Regions from separate parts of the Homo sapiens genome. Here regions 1 and 3 are each linked to region 2. Evidence: promoter capture Hi-C in human tissues and cell types (Jung and others, 2019). All regions are on one chromosome and are shown on one strand. Each heading gives the region's core, a stretch centred on a gene start or on the middle of the fragment in contact. The rest is flanking DNA. Distances are from core to core; before and after follow the strand shown. Region 1 overlaps LOC105369998 (a long non-coding RNA gene). Region 2 holds the start of TBX5 (T-box transcription factor 5). Region 3 overlaps TBX5 (T-box transcription factor 5).

Region 1 (4,833 bases), core at 88-2,587, 36 kb after region 2:
GAGGTACGGCGCGTTCAGGTTGCTGCATCAGTTTGCACAGCGCTGTGCCGCGCTCAGTCGGGAATTGCCACAGACGCCCGATTTCCTCGGTGCCATGTGGGCTCCTAGCTGCCGCCACAGAGCGGCCGGATCCTACCAGGGTTTCCCAGTGCCCGGGTACCTGCAAGAATCTTCCCAGGACGGGAGCAGTGGGCACTGAGCAGCGCTGCCGGGAGAAAGATGTTGCGTTTTGCCAAGCGCTCACCCGCGCTTCAAAACCCCAGTCGGTAAGACCTTGCGTCCCCCACGGGCACTAAAATGGCGAAGCACGTCCTGGCTAACGCAGTCTGTCTCTTACAGCACGCTCACGTGCGCCTAGAATTATAATACAATATAACACATCGTAATATCGGATATTATACCACGTTTACCTCCCATTAGGATGTGTATATTGTGTTAGGCTGTGCTTATGTGTTTGTTACGACGTGCTGTGATACTGTATCTTTCAGTCTCACTACCACGTGCCACGCACCTACTCGTTTATTTCATTCGCACAATGACCCTGCAGGTAGGAGTCATTTCCAGCACTGCCTACTCCAGGCCCAGAGAGGGGAAGGCACTTACACAGAGTCACCCTGCAAGAAAGGGGCAGGGCTTGGACTGGAACCCACAGCCTGAGGACTGGCCTAGGAGTGAAAAGCAGACATCCACCAACATAGCTCGACACGAAGCTTTCCTACGCCACACATTGCTGTTTCTGGAATAGCCCAACAATATATATTTATTTTATTACATTCTCACCATCTGGCTGAGAGGAGCCGCTACCAGCGTGCATGCTGCAACCTGTTGGCTGAGGACCCAGTATGGACAGGCCTCCAGTTCTACTACAGAACAATCTTGATCCAGCCATTCCCTCCTCCTGCCTCCTTCATTGGCTCCTCCTAACAACCCTAAGAGGGGAGTACTGTTATCACGGTTCACAGATGAGAGCTAGGTTCAGAGAGGTTAAATTGCTTTCCCAACATCACTTAGCAAGTGAGGGAAGAGGTTCAGCTTCGGCATTCAGACTCCAGAGCCCTTGATTCTGAAAGCTGCATTTCCAGACCCAGACCCGCTCCGAAGTGTCCCCAGTTTAATTCGAGTTGAAGAGTTGATGGAGGACCGCCAGTGGGAAACAGGTTCTAATGAGGATATATTCTTAATGTTTGGGAGTTGGGCACATCCTTGGGATGCAATAGAATCTCTGGATGTTGCCTCCCGTGGGGAGGTGTTCCTGAACTCCAATTAAAGTCTTTAGAACCAGCATCATGGTCCAGGACCTCATTGTAATTAGCTGGAGATCTGCAGGCTGCCTTCCTGATGACAGGGCTGAGGACTGATCCTTCACATATTCCAACCTTTCCTCCTCTTTGTGTGCTGCTGGAGGAGGAAGAGGGTGTGCACACGCTTGGACATGTGTTTAATCCCCTCTCCAGCTGCAAAAGTCAGGAGTCTCTGTGCCCTCAAAAATATCCCCAACAACTGGAAGACCATAACCAACCACAGCCTTTAAGGAACTCCCAGAGCAGGGACTTCTGGATCTTCTCTCAAACTTCCCTGTCTCTAGGCAGAGATCTACACTGGTGAAATTAAGGGAAGGGAAAGGAATCAAGATCCAGTCCAGCTGGATTATGTGGACTCCTGCCCCAGGCAGCCACATATTTCCCACCACCACCACCCACCCATACCAAAGTTGTTGGGGGAGACTTTGTGGACAGATTCACTGGACTTTGTTAGTGTAGAACCAGCCTCTATCCTTGAGGTCTGTCATAGATTACAAGATGCAGGGGCCTGAAGAAACAAAAGTGTTAGAAATTGGTGCTTTCTGGGGAAAATGGGATCCACTGGGATTGAGATCCAACAGACATTTCCTAAATAGAAAACATTGACACGGTTGTCCCAAACCCTAGCCCTGTTCCTCTGCTGCCCAGTGACCTTGGTTCAACACACACAAACACAAACACAGACACAAACACACAGCCTCTAAATGCAGGAAGAGAGTTTCAAACAAATACAGGAGATTTGTTTTGTTTGCCTTTCTTTCTTTCTCTTTCTTTCTTTCTTTCTCCTTTCAAGGTAAAAGGGGTGTATTTACACTTCTCGTGACATAATGGAGATGAAAGAAAATTAGAAAATTATGTGGAAATTTTGGCCCATCTTCTCATTTCCCTTATACACTTAATTATCTGGAAATTTGGGAAAAGTTGAGACATCTAGTGTGTGGATGACCAGAGAGATTGCTTTAATTCTCTAATTTGGGAAACCTGGTGGGGCTGCCTCTGAAGCTCTTCTTCCAGCCATGAACATACTCAGAAGCCCAAGAAGCTCAGAGAAGATGCCAAGGTAACCACCACTCTCATCACCACACCCATCTCTCCCTCCCTTCTCCATCACAACCTTGGGAGCATTGTGGAATTTGCCAGGGAAAAATAAATCCAGAAGTACTGTATCAGAAAAATTCAGGAGAGTGAGCAGGCATCCAGCCACAGCTGGAGAGCAGAACACTGTGCTAATACAATCTGGACGGTTGTCCCCATAACAGCAGATGTTGACTACCTGGCAAATCCAGGAAATTCTGGGAAATTCAGTATAACATTTGGATAATTGACAGTTTTGCCTAGGTAATTCAAGAGACTCATGATGGAGGAATCCGTAATTAGGCAGCCAATTCAAACCTCTCTAAACGAGTTTAGGTTAGTTTAAGTTAGCTGTGTTTTGTTTTAATTCAGAATGCTCAGTTTTCACTGGAATTTCCACCTGGGCCACACTCACGGAGGCAGAGAACAGCCCGTCCCGGTGGCCACTTTTCTTGGCCAAGCCCCCAGAGCAAATCCCTGGGGGCCCTGCAGGGCTAGAGTGGAGGCCACTGGGAGGGGAGGGTCGCTGGGGTCGCTGGGCGCGCGCGCGCGGAGCAAATTTGCCCGCGCGCACCCAGAAACGATGACATAAGTGGCGCTGATGAGCGCTGCGCGGCTGAAACGCGACTACATAAAGGGTCCGCCGGCAGCGTGGGCCGGAGGGATTGCTTCACACTCCGGAATTGGGCCCAGACACATTTAGAAATGTTTTGCTGGACGTGTGCCCCGCAAGGGCGACAGCGGCAGCCGGCAGCCTGGGTGAAGCTGCGCCGCTGGTCACAGGCTGGCGCGCGGCGGCGGCCACAGAGGCGTCCTAGGTGGAGAATGCTTCTGCCTTTGCCTGTTCTCCCCTAACCCCCACGTTTGTATGCCTCCTGGGGACAGGGGTCTGTCTGCAGCCTGCAGCGCCCCAGCTGTGACCAGAGAAGCATTAAGGAGCGGCGCGGGCAAGAATTTGGCATCAAAGGAAATACTGTAGGTTTCAGCATCGGTCTCTCCCGCTGATCGTCGGGCTCCGCGGGGCACAGGACCAACCTGGTCACAGCTGGGCCTCCAGAGCTCAGCACCGAGCCTGAAACTAATGGGATATTTATCAAATCAATGAATGAACCCAGAAATCAGGCTTTCAACCCTAACATTCTCCTCATTCACTATGAGACACGGAATGCCTCTCTCTGGCCCTGTCTCCTCTGTAGAGTAACAGGGCAGTCTTTCGGGTTCTGCCCACGCTCTTACAACTCAGTCATAAGAAGCGATAACCACAGAAACATCTGACACTAATTGACCACCTACACTTTTCTACGAGCTTTGCAGTCACTTAATCTCCCAACAACCATCGGGGTAGATACCGTTATATCGCCATTTTACAGAGAAGCAAACGGGAGGTCAAACAGGCTGACCCAGGCCGCCTAGTTCCTGCGGGGATTTGACGACTGTGGGAATCCCGTGCTCGGAAGGCGGGCGTTGCTACAGGGCACGATGAATGTTGAGCCCGTGCCCCAATTTCGCCAGACTTAACGACAATTCCTACACAAGTCCCCCCAGCAACAAGGAGGGCCAGCCTTCGCTCCTGCTTCTCTCTTAGTTGTATATCTGGAGCCAAGGAGTCCAAAACAGCTCACCAGCTCTAAGTGCACACATATCAGGGCTGGGAGCCGGAACCGCCTGGGCATGCGTTCCTGCGCGCTTACTCCTGAGGCCAGGGAAAAAGGTTTGCCTGCGATCCTGACCAAGGCCACGCATTAAAAGACTGCGTGGAATCCTTAAAGCCTCTAAGAATCTAACGTCCTAAGAAAGACCACCCCAGAAGTAGATGTGATGTACCTAAGCCCTGGCATTCGGGCTCTGCGCCTCACCAGCGTCTTTACGCACAGGCGCAATTGCGCCGGGCACTAGGGCGCAAACCCGGATCCTGCGCGCTGGCTTCTGTTACCTCCCGGCTTCGACTTCGGCTGCTGCACACTCGTCAAAGTAATGAATGGAGAGAGAAAAGAAGAGGGGGGGAGGGAGGGGGCATTGTGAAGGGGGTGGAATATTTTGGAAATAATACCCTGAGAGAAGGAAATATGGACAACAGTTTATCAGCACCCCCGCCCCCATTGTCCGCATGTTTAAAACCCCTAAGTAATTTTAGATTGTGTCTTCAGTTAATATATCTCTCTCTCTTTCCCGCGGGCTGACAGAGAAGCGCGGTTGCTGCAAGATGTCTGCAGAAATGGGTCTTTAAAAGTTTCCACATTGTTTAGCTACACAAACGTGTTTGCGGTTCCCGAGGCCCTCCCCCTCCCCCACCCGCCTCCGAATCTCATTTCACTTTACGACTCCAATTGTTTGAGGATCCCCGCGCCACATAAATCCTGCTTCGAGATTAATCTCCCTGCTCGCTCGCGCTGGGCGCAGTGATTTTTTTTTTCTTTCTTTCTTTCTTTTTTTTTTTTTTTTTTTTTGAGTTCTTTAA
Region 2 (5,017 bases), core at 374-2,873:
CAAAAGAGAATTCATATACACCTTTTACCAGTTACAGGCCTTAACATTAAAAGTCCTTTAAAATTAAACATCCTTTTCTTTATCCCAACCTTAAGTAAGATTCGTTAAAAGATAAAAAGTAGCCAAACAGAAGACTAGATGAAGAAAGTCACCGTGCAGCCGTTCCGAGGAAGGCTCGTCACTGGGTGCCCGCCACCAGCGCTCTGATGCCGGGCGGGGGATGGCGGGCATTTTGTGGAGTGACCAGGCCGAAAGGGGTTTCTCTGAACTTCAGCCAGGCCTGGCCTGCTAAAACTGCAGGCTCAGGCTCAGGATTGGCGAGGACAAAATCATTCTCGGATAAGTCCTAGGCTGGAGACATTGAATCTGCAGCCCGGGTCCCCGCAATGCATAGAACGGCCCGGGTTTGCAGGCGTATGAGCTTAGAACACACAAAATAACTGCCGCAGAGCTGTTCAAGCCCGATGAGCCTGTCTCCTGCTCTCTGATCTCCTTCCAATCTCTTCTATACGCAAGTAGGAATTCCCCCTAGAACGGGAAGACTTTGGGAAGCGGGCACAAGCGATGGTCCCCCAAAACCTCAGCAGCTGCTTAAGCAAGCGGCCAGATCCCACCCTGACCTGCTGTGGCCAGAGATCTAGAAATGGGGCCGAGGAGAAGGACAGCTTCTGAGGCCTGACTTGCAAGCAGCTTTCTTCGCCTCGTTCTCGGGGCTTCAGGGAGGCGGCGACTGGAGCCCCGCTGCCTACTCACAACAAAAGAAAGCAGGGCTGGCGCCCCTACACGCGCTCCCATTCACTGCCGGCCGCGGGGAGAATCCTACCCCGCGCCCTCGCCAGGGTCCCGGGGAGCTCTGGGCTGGCGGAGGCGAACAAGATGCGGTTTGACAGAACCAGGCCGTGCTTCTGCAAACCTCAATGCCGCTCCGCCAGCCGCGGCGGCCTCCCAGACTCCATTTGCCGGGGAGCTCCGAGCCGCGCAAAATCTCTGCAAGCTGTGCTCTGCAGAATGCAAAGCCGGGCTGGAATCCGCCATTCCCGCCGCCCCAGCCGACTCGGCCGACGAGCTCCCTCCTGAGCCTCCCGGGCCATCTGCCGGGACGGTTACCTCGTTCGGTGAAGCCGGTGCATTCACCACATCCTCTGCTGCTCCTAGCAGGGAAGCCGGCGGTGAGGCGGGGGAGCAGGCATGGTGGCTCCGGGGTTTATGCGGGGTTTACTGCTTACCCAGAATAGCGGCTACTGCTGCCTACTAGGGCGCACCTACCGCTGGAGCCTCCGCGGCGACTGCCCACCTCCAACACACACCTCCTCTGCTGTGCGCTTGCTCTCCCTAAATACTTCCCAGTTGGCAAGCGCCAAAGAACACAAAATAGCCTCCAAGAGCACCGGCAACCATATAATCTCAGTGCCCCGCTCCTCCTTTACACCCCCAGGGAGGGAAAGTTGGAAGCCCAGTGAATGGTCGAAGTCCTTTCTGAGCGCAGCTTTCAGGATTAAAGTTCCCGGATTCGAGGTAAGAGTCAGTCTCTCTCACTCTCTCTCCCTCTCTCTCTCTCTCTGAAATACAAGCCAACTCAGCTGAGCACAGTGACGTTGGGTTGCCTCGATGCTCACAAAGTACTGAAATCGCCTATCCAACTAGCTCCCACTGCACTCTGTCGCCCTCCCCCTTCTCTCTCCCTCCCACCCTCCCGTCCTCCCTTCCCCCCACCCCAAATTTCCACTAGATTTCCCGAACACTCAAATCACAATACGACTCTCAACACAGACCTGCAATAACTCCCTCCTCTCTACCCCTTTCCCAACCTCCATCCATCTCTGCTTCTCTGAGCAAGCGGTGGCTGCAAAAACTCCTGCACAAATCATTTCAAACGCGGTCGGCTTCTAATCGGGAAGTAATCTCAGTGACGCTGGCGGTGCAGAGAACCGAGTCTGGACGCACACACACAAACACACCGCGGGCCTCCGCAGCCTTGCAGACATTCTCTCCAACGCTGACCTCGAGAAGGAGAGCTGCCTGACCCCGCCTGGCCGGCGCTCGCCTTCCTGACATCTCCCCTCCACCCCCTACTCATCACCCCTACTCTCAACGACTCTGGGGTGAAGGCAGGGTGAAGGTGCATTGGGATGGGGGCCGAGATCAAAGATGCTAAGAAATCGCTGCGGGCCCTCACCCCCCACCCAGTGGGGCCACCAGACGTCCCCTGCTCCAGGTGTACACAAGGCAGTGCCCAGTTTTATTAAAATAATCAAACAGTCACTGGGGACTGGCTAGGGTTTTCATCTCCACTGGTCTCCTCTCCTTGCCCTTTCCCTCTCTGAGATGTATTTTTTTTTTTTAGGGTGAGTTGAAGAGGTCAATAAAAGCACAAACACAGTCAGTAGGTCTCAGTCTGAGCAGACCCAGATTGGGACACCGAATATTGGTGCTTGGAGTAAATGTCAGGAGTCCTGTTCTGTTTCCCATCCTTACCTCCTGTACCCCCATCATACTGATTTTTCTAGGGTTCTGATAAGAGACTTGGGCCTGCAAGTCAAGGTCTGGAGAAAGGGATGGAGGGAGGAGAAATGCCCCGAGGTCAGCAGCTGTGTAACCCTCTGTGACTGCTCTGCTAAAATCCCAGGCCAGGCCATTGCTGCAAAATGCCAAAGTGGAGAATCTCCAACCCTGAATGTGGGGCAACCGGGGAGAAAGCCAGCCCTCCTTTGCTATGGTGCTCACTCCACCTTCCAGGTTTGTTTGCAAACAGATATTTTCCCTTTGCCCAGGCGATGTATTTATTTGTGAAAACACCCTCACCCTCCAAGTCAGCTTGGAGGCCTTTAGGCTTGCTGGCAAGGCGACCCTAGGCCGAAGACACGAAAAACAAACATGGCATCGGAAGAAGGCTGAACCGCTACATCTCCAGTAGAGGGAAAGGGAAATCCAGAAAGACCTTCCCAATCCCTTTAAGTTCTCAGAGATTTGGGGATAAAATTAATTCCCATAAATAATCTTCAGGCCCCTCCAGAGAGGAAAAATCTGGACTCTCCCAGGTAATAGCCCAGCCAGATTTGCTTAGCTCATTGAGCACAGATGGTCTGGGCCACCAAGCAAAATAGGGATTTTCAAACCTTTCGAGAGAATCCATTCTTGCCAGGTGACACACGAAGCCATTCTTATTTCGTTCATGAGAAGTAGCAGCACAGCAAGAGAAGATTCAGCAAGACTAAGACGGGGTGAAAAGCCAAGGAGGGCCAAGTGCAAAGAGAAACCTATTTCCCCCCTCAGTCCTCCAGGGTGAAACTCACCTCCAACTATCCCACCTCTTCTTTGGAGCGCAAAAGCCAGGAGTGCGCCTCGCTGGAGAGCAGGGCTCAGGTGAAGACTTTGAAAAGGACCACCAAAAGAGACCTCTTTAGGCCAGGTCTTCTTCCAACGTCTGTCAAGAAGAGCACGTACCTCCCAGCTCAAGGTTGGTTTGTGGTCTCCGACAAATTAAATATTACTGTTTATTACCAGGCATACCCCAGTAAAATAAAGAGGCAACCAGGCGATAGCGACTATCTCACCAGCCGCTGCACCTATAGGACTTGGAGACGTCACGAGTCACGCAACCGGCCCGCGCGCTGTCACGTTTGGCTGGGGGGCAGCGGCGGGAGGTAAATTTCTCTCCGTCTTCGCCTATCAGTGCCGGGTCTGCGCAGCCACAGGTTCCGGACGTCTTGGCCCCGGGAATAAATAAAGACATAAACCAACCCGGCTTTCTCCGGAGGAATGAGGGTGATGAACATAAGACACAAATAGAGCCAAGATCGACTTTCTTAGGAAGGGGGAGAGGAGGGAACTCTTCACGAAGGGAGGTGGGAGTCCACCTCAGACCTCTATTGGAAGGAAATCGAGTTGTTCCGGGGGACTGAGGTCTCTTGCATAAGGCATGGGATCCTTATTATTATTATTATTATTTTTAAATCCCCCGCGGAGGAGCTCTGGGCAAATGAATACCGAGGCGCCGCTCTAGCTGGTTAGGCTTGGGATGCGATAACTCAGTGCCCTCTTGCAGACTTGCATAGAAATAATTACTGGGTTGTCGTGGAGGGGACACGAGACAGAGGGAGTTCTCCGTAATGTGCCTTGCGGAGAGAAAGGTCCAAGAATGCAATTCGTCCCAGAGTGGCCCGGCAGGGGCGGGGTGCGAGTGGGTGGTGGAGTAGGGGTGGGAGTGGAGAGAGGTGGTTTCTGTAGAGAATAATTATTGTACCAGGGCCCGCCGAGGCACGAGGCACTCTATTTTGTTTTGTAATCACGACGACTATTATTTTTAGTCTGATCAATGGGCACAATTTCTAAGCAGCGCAGTGGTGGATGCTCGCAAACTTTTGCGCACCGCTGGAAACCCACTAGGTTGAGTTGCAAAACGTACCGCGTAGACGCCCCTGGTGGCGCCGAGAGAAGAGCTAGGCCTGCCCAGCACAGAGCCGGAGAGCGTCGGGCCTTCCGGAAGGGTAAGTTCTCCGCCAAGGGGTCCCGAGGGAGCTGGACGTCTGAATCTGGACTTGCCCCCAGCTTCGGGGTTCGATTCTGGGTTTTGCGCGTCCCCAACCCCCAGGGCTTTCCGAAGCATGGCCTGGCTCCAGGCCCGGTCCTGTAAGGACTGGAACGGCAGCAAAATGTGCAGGGAGGCAGTCGGCCGGCAGAGCTGCGGCGGGAGCCAAGGTCAGGCCCGCGGGGAGAGCGGGCAGCTTCCAGCGCCGGCCACAAGCTCCCAGGCCAGCTGGGCCGCAGACCCCTTTGCTTCCAGAGAGCACAACCCGCGTCCTTTCTCTCAGCCAGGCTGCAGTGGCTGCCCCGAGCTTCGCTTTCGTTTCCCAAGCTGTTAATAACGATATGTCCCCAAATCCGAGGCTCGTGTTTGCTCCCAGATGCCAAGAACGCAACCCGAAATCCTTCTCCCAAACCCTAGGTCGACGAGATGAGTTCCTACTTGACCTCTGAGCCGAGGTGGGCCGGAAACCGAGGCCTAGGCCCCGCCGGG
Region 3 (4,490 bases), core at 1,642-4,141, 46 kb before region 2:
GCTAACACCACCAGTCAGGCTCATGGCAGACATAATTCACAATAATACCCTCAAAGTATTCCCTTCAGGGGAAGCAATACTTGGGGATATCTACCAAAGTATAAACCTCAACACAGACTCATTACTTATCTGAAATTTTACCTTCCAAACTGAAAATTCTCTTTCCTCATCTTTCTGTCTCTTTCTAGTCAATAAATGTTAAGAAATTATGTCTGTCTTTGGAGAAGTGAAGAAAAATGAAACACTGGGGCATCCATGCAACTCACTGTGATGGCTCATGGCCATGAAAACAGAATGCTGAACTAAATAACGAGAGGAAATGATCAGAGCTATTATTTATTGAGTACCTACTACATGACCTTACTCTTCATCTCACAGTAATTCCTCAAGGTGTCTGCTGTAATGCCTGTCTCATAAAGGCAGAAACTAAAGCTCAGAGAAGTGACTTGCCCAAGGTCACATGGCTGAGAAGGAACAGAGGCTGGAATCTAAGCCAGATTGGATTGACTTTGCCTACACACCTTGCTTCCAACTCTCTAGATTTCTAATACCCAGTGCCACTCATGCAATCATACAGCAGATAATTACTGAGCTGCTCCAAAGTGCTAGGTATTGTGCCAGGTGCTGGAGATAGAGTGGTGAACATGATCCCGTTTTTGGTGCATGTCCTCAATCCCAGTCTATCCTACCATGAGCAGTAAGTGAGGGAGGCTGACACTCTGTGACTGAGAGGTGGTCCTCAGATATAAAGACACAAGTAAGCCATTGACTCAAGACTAAATCCTTTGGCTTTGGACTGGTTTGTAAAATAGCTCCCAAACCCAGGTAGAGTAGCTTGGGTTTGGATTCCACCAATCAGCTCCATTTGTATCAATGTCCAAGTGACACCCACAGATAAGCCAAAAGTATCCACAAACAAAACATATCTCTTAGGGTTGTGCCCACTTAACAGCAAGTAAACTTATTTCCACTAGACTCTTTCTGGGCCACATATGGGACTTATAGGATACCAAAAAAATTTGTACCAAAAATAAAAAAAAAAGAAAAACACACTCTTCCAGGTGTTCTATCTACATCATGCCAACCATGCAGATGTTTGAAAACATCCAGATGAATGAACGGCCACATTTTTCACCTTTTAACTGTGCGGGGTTTTTTTTGTTTGTTTGTTTGTTTGTTTGTTTGTTTGGAGGCTTGAAGACATTGCTATACTCAGCTTCTTTTTGTCCTCACCACCTCCTCCCTTGATTCCTTTCCTTCAATTCTTCCTTCCTTCCCCCAGATTCATAAACCTGAGTGTTTCCATTGTTGCTGGAATCATAACCTTTGGGTTTTCCAATTAACCAGGGTGTTACCCTTTTCAATAATAGAAAGTACAGCTGCAGGGCACCCTTAGCAAGAGGAAAAAAAAACAAGGCAAACTAACTATTTTCAAGTTTCTGATCCCCTTCCAGATTTGTTACAAGTAAAAAAGGAAGAATAATAAGAAAACGGCCGGAACACATTTTGGAAAATCGTAAAATTATACATTCCAGTCTTTAATACCCCAAAGATCTAATGCAGAGCACTAAGAAAAACTCAATCTTGGCTTATTGATGAAAGCAGGTCCTGAACATTCTCAAATTCCTCTCAGGCCTCATCACATTGTAAAGAAATTCCAACTCAAGGATCCAAATTTCAGGTCAGTCATGATAAATGCTCTGGATGTAATCTCTGTGTTTATTTTGGTTATGGCTCAGTTTCTTTCTTTTTTCTCTTCTTTGAGAGCCCAATAACTGTTCAACAGCAAAGACCTATCTCCAGCCAAGTCATGATTAACTTTCAGGGTTGGTAAATGGGCTATACTTAAGTATCAAGTCTTCTGATGAGATGAGTCCACAACTCGGCTTCAGAAAGTTGCATATTAAGAGTGGTCAGTTATATTGCAACTATCCTAAACCGAAATGAGTCTCTTAGGTAACAGTAAATTCTTCCTGATTCTGACCACTCATTATGGCATGGCACTGTAGAAAACCCTAGTACTTTGGATTTTTCTAGATATTTTTGATTCCGGATAAAGTGAATTTAGTAATGCATCCAAGGCACAGATATTAAGGCACAGAGTTACAGCTCCAATGCTCGCTCGCCATGTGACTGGATGAATCACCAGGTCATTCCAATCTCAGTTCTTGATTGTAAATGGAGATAATACCTGAACTTTTTATGAGATTTAATTGAGGTAATAATGAGGGCAGTTGAGTTTTTATCTTCCTTGCACATAAAGCATTCAAATCTTGTCTGTCCAAATGACCTGGGTCCATTCTCTTTTCCCTCTTTCTCTTTTGGAAGACTGGATAGATAGCTTTCTGAAAGTTGTCCCATACTTAATAGTATTTGGGTAGATTACAGAGCTGGAAAGCTCACAGAGTGCTTTTAAATACTAATCCTATTGAGCAAATATTTTCACTATTCCCAAATGGGTCATTTCTCTTGCCAATTCAGTTCATTCAGATGAAGAACCATTGGCGAGTCTTCCCAGACAGAGACCCTGAAACTCAGAGTAGTAATCTTTCTAGCTGAGTGACCTTCAGCAAGTTGGGAAGGTGGCTATAATTCAGGTCTTCTGACTCACAAAGCAGTGCTCATTCTGACAGATGGCCCCAGGCTTTCCATTTCACGCAACCCTACATGCTCAGCCAACATGAAAAGGTAGCAAACCTTGACTCTTATGGATGAGTGGGTGGATGAGTAGATGGATGGATGGGAGGATAGATGTATGGGTGGGTGGGTGGGTGGATGGATGGATGAATGAATGAGTGGGAGGATTGGTGGATGAGTGGGTGGATGGATGGGTGGTTGGATGGGTGGATGGATGCATGGATGGGTGGGTGGGTAGATGGGTGAATGGATGGGTGGGTTGATGGATGAGTGAGTGGTTGGGTAGGTGGATGGATGGGTTGATAGATGGGTGGGGGGATGGATAAGTGGGTGGATGGATAAGTGGATAGGTGGGGTGATGGCTGGATGGATGAGTGGGTAGATGGATGAGTGGGTGGATGGATGAGTGAGTGGATAGATAGATGAGTGATGGATGGGTGGATGGATGAATGAGTGAGTGGGTGGATGGGTGGGTGGATGGGTGAATGGTGGGTGGATGGATTGGTGGGTGGGTGGATGAGTGGGTGGATGACTTTTTGTTGTTGTTGTTTTTGTTGTTGTTGTTATTTGTTTTTGGTGTCCCCATGCTCTTAGCATAAAGTAGGAAGGGTTGGAATGGTATTGTGCGAAGATTCTCAACGAGAAATCAAAAGACTCAGTTTGAAACATCACCTAGTCACTACCTGAAACCAATAAATTTACTTACTGGCTTATTATATGTCTCATCCAGTAAGAATTCAAGTTTCTTGAGAGCGGGAGCCTTTTCCACCATGTCCTCCACTTATCCCAAGCACCTAGCACAGTGTCCATTATACATTAAGTGCTCAATAAATAAAGATTAATCTGATGCATCCATCCCAGATCTGCCAATCATCAGCCACATAAGCTTAAAATCTAACCCTGTCTCTTGGTCCTCCATTAGATCCCTGCAAAATAGAGATGGGTGGCATCTCCCCTAGTCCAAAGACTGCTGCAGGGAACTGGAGAATCAGCAAAGGAATGGATGTGAAATCGCATTTTAAAACATAGCACTCAGAAAATGCACCCTGCAAAGCCCTTTTCCATATCGAATTCCCCTTCCCCTCTCAATCTCTAACTTTCCTTTGAATATCTGATTCAGCTCATGGCTTTGCTAGAATCTTTATTTGGGTTGCTTTTAGTTTCTAATGCGAGTGGGGGTGAGAGTCAGGGGTGAGAGGGAGAAAGACAGACAAGTGCTCTCCCAGGCCCTGGGGTCCTGGATTTGATTGAGTGGCATTGATAAAAGACCTTCCCAGCTTTTTTGGCTCAGTCCATCGGGAGAGATAGTTTGGAGACAGCCGGTTCCAAACACAAGGAGCCCTCCGGCCTGCCTGGCCCTGTGACATTTCATTGGGCCTGACTCCTGGGCTCATTGGAAAGGAGACAGACAATGAGGGGAAGTCAGATAGTGGGGCAGGCAGGGGCCAGGGGGAAAACCACCCATGGAGTTATCACTTAATGAGAATCCCAACTGGAAGGAAACCTCGGCTGATTCCTTATCACTTTACAGTGTGGAGGCTGATGATGAATTGCTATTTGTTGTCTCCTAGGCAGGACAGAGAGCCCTCGGTTGGAATGTTCCCTGTCACTGGGAGCTCCCTTTTGGGGGTGGAGGGAGGTGAGAAGGGCAGAGTTTCTGGAAAGGTGAAAGGATTTCTCCAGGGTGCATACCCCATTCACCCTGAGCCCACAGGCCTCAGTATACATCTCAAGCTGGGCCACTCACGAGCTGAGTGACTTTGGGTAAGTTCCTCAGTGTTGGTTTCCAAATCCACAAAGAAGTGGGGTAATTCTTCACCTTGTTATCGCCAACCAGCCACTAAGGCCTGATT

The links. The method cuts DNA at HindIII sites, captures the fragments that hold promoters and counts their contacts. A contact is called where the count stands out against the background at its distance.
Region 1: a contact is called between a fragment that was not itself captured here and the fragment with the promoter of TBX5 in region 2, in 2 of the 25 tissues and cell types used here (H1 embryonic stem cells and spleen).
Region 3: a fragment that was not itself captured here is called in contact with the fragment with the promoter of TBX5 in region 2 in 1 of the 25 tissues and cell types used here (H1 embryonic stem cells).

Annotation. Positions count from the first base shown.
Region 1 is chr12:114,440,946-114,445,778 of GRCh38, forward strand. All of the region lies in intron 1 of LOC105369998 (a long non-coding RNA gene), which reads right to left. Among named protein-coding and RNA genes, the nearest start is that of TBX5-AS1, 35 kb to the left of the region's middle. RefSeq lists enhancers at 1-563, 2,512-3,015. The HindIII fragment of the contact is 5,965 bases long and covers 1-4,320 here.
Region 2 is chr12:114,404,521-114,409,537 of GRCh38, forward strand. It overlaps TBX5 (T-box transcription factor 5), which reads right to left and starts at 1,624. Exons shown (of 9, transcript NM_181486.4): 1 at 1,108-1,624. It overlaps TBX5-AS1 (TBX5 antisense RNA 1), which reads left to right and starts at 3,675. Exons shown (of 3, transcript NR_038440.1): 1 at 3,675-3,765; 2 at 4,308-4,487; 3 at 4,946-5,017. RefSeq lists enhancers at 826-1,512, 1,551-2,051, 4,772-5,017. The HindIII fragment of the contact is 27,288 bases long and covers 1-5,017 here.
Region 3 is chr12:114,357,621-114,362,110 of GRCh38, forward strand. The region is part of intron 8 of TBX5 (T-box transcription factor 5); the gene reads right to left. Among named protein-coding and RNA genes, the nearest start is that of TBX5, 46 kb to the right of the region's middle. The HindIII fragment of the contact is 3,921 bases long and covers 932-4,490 here.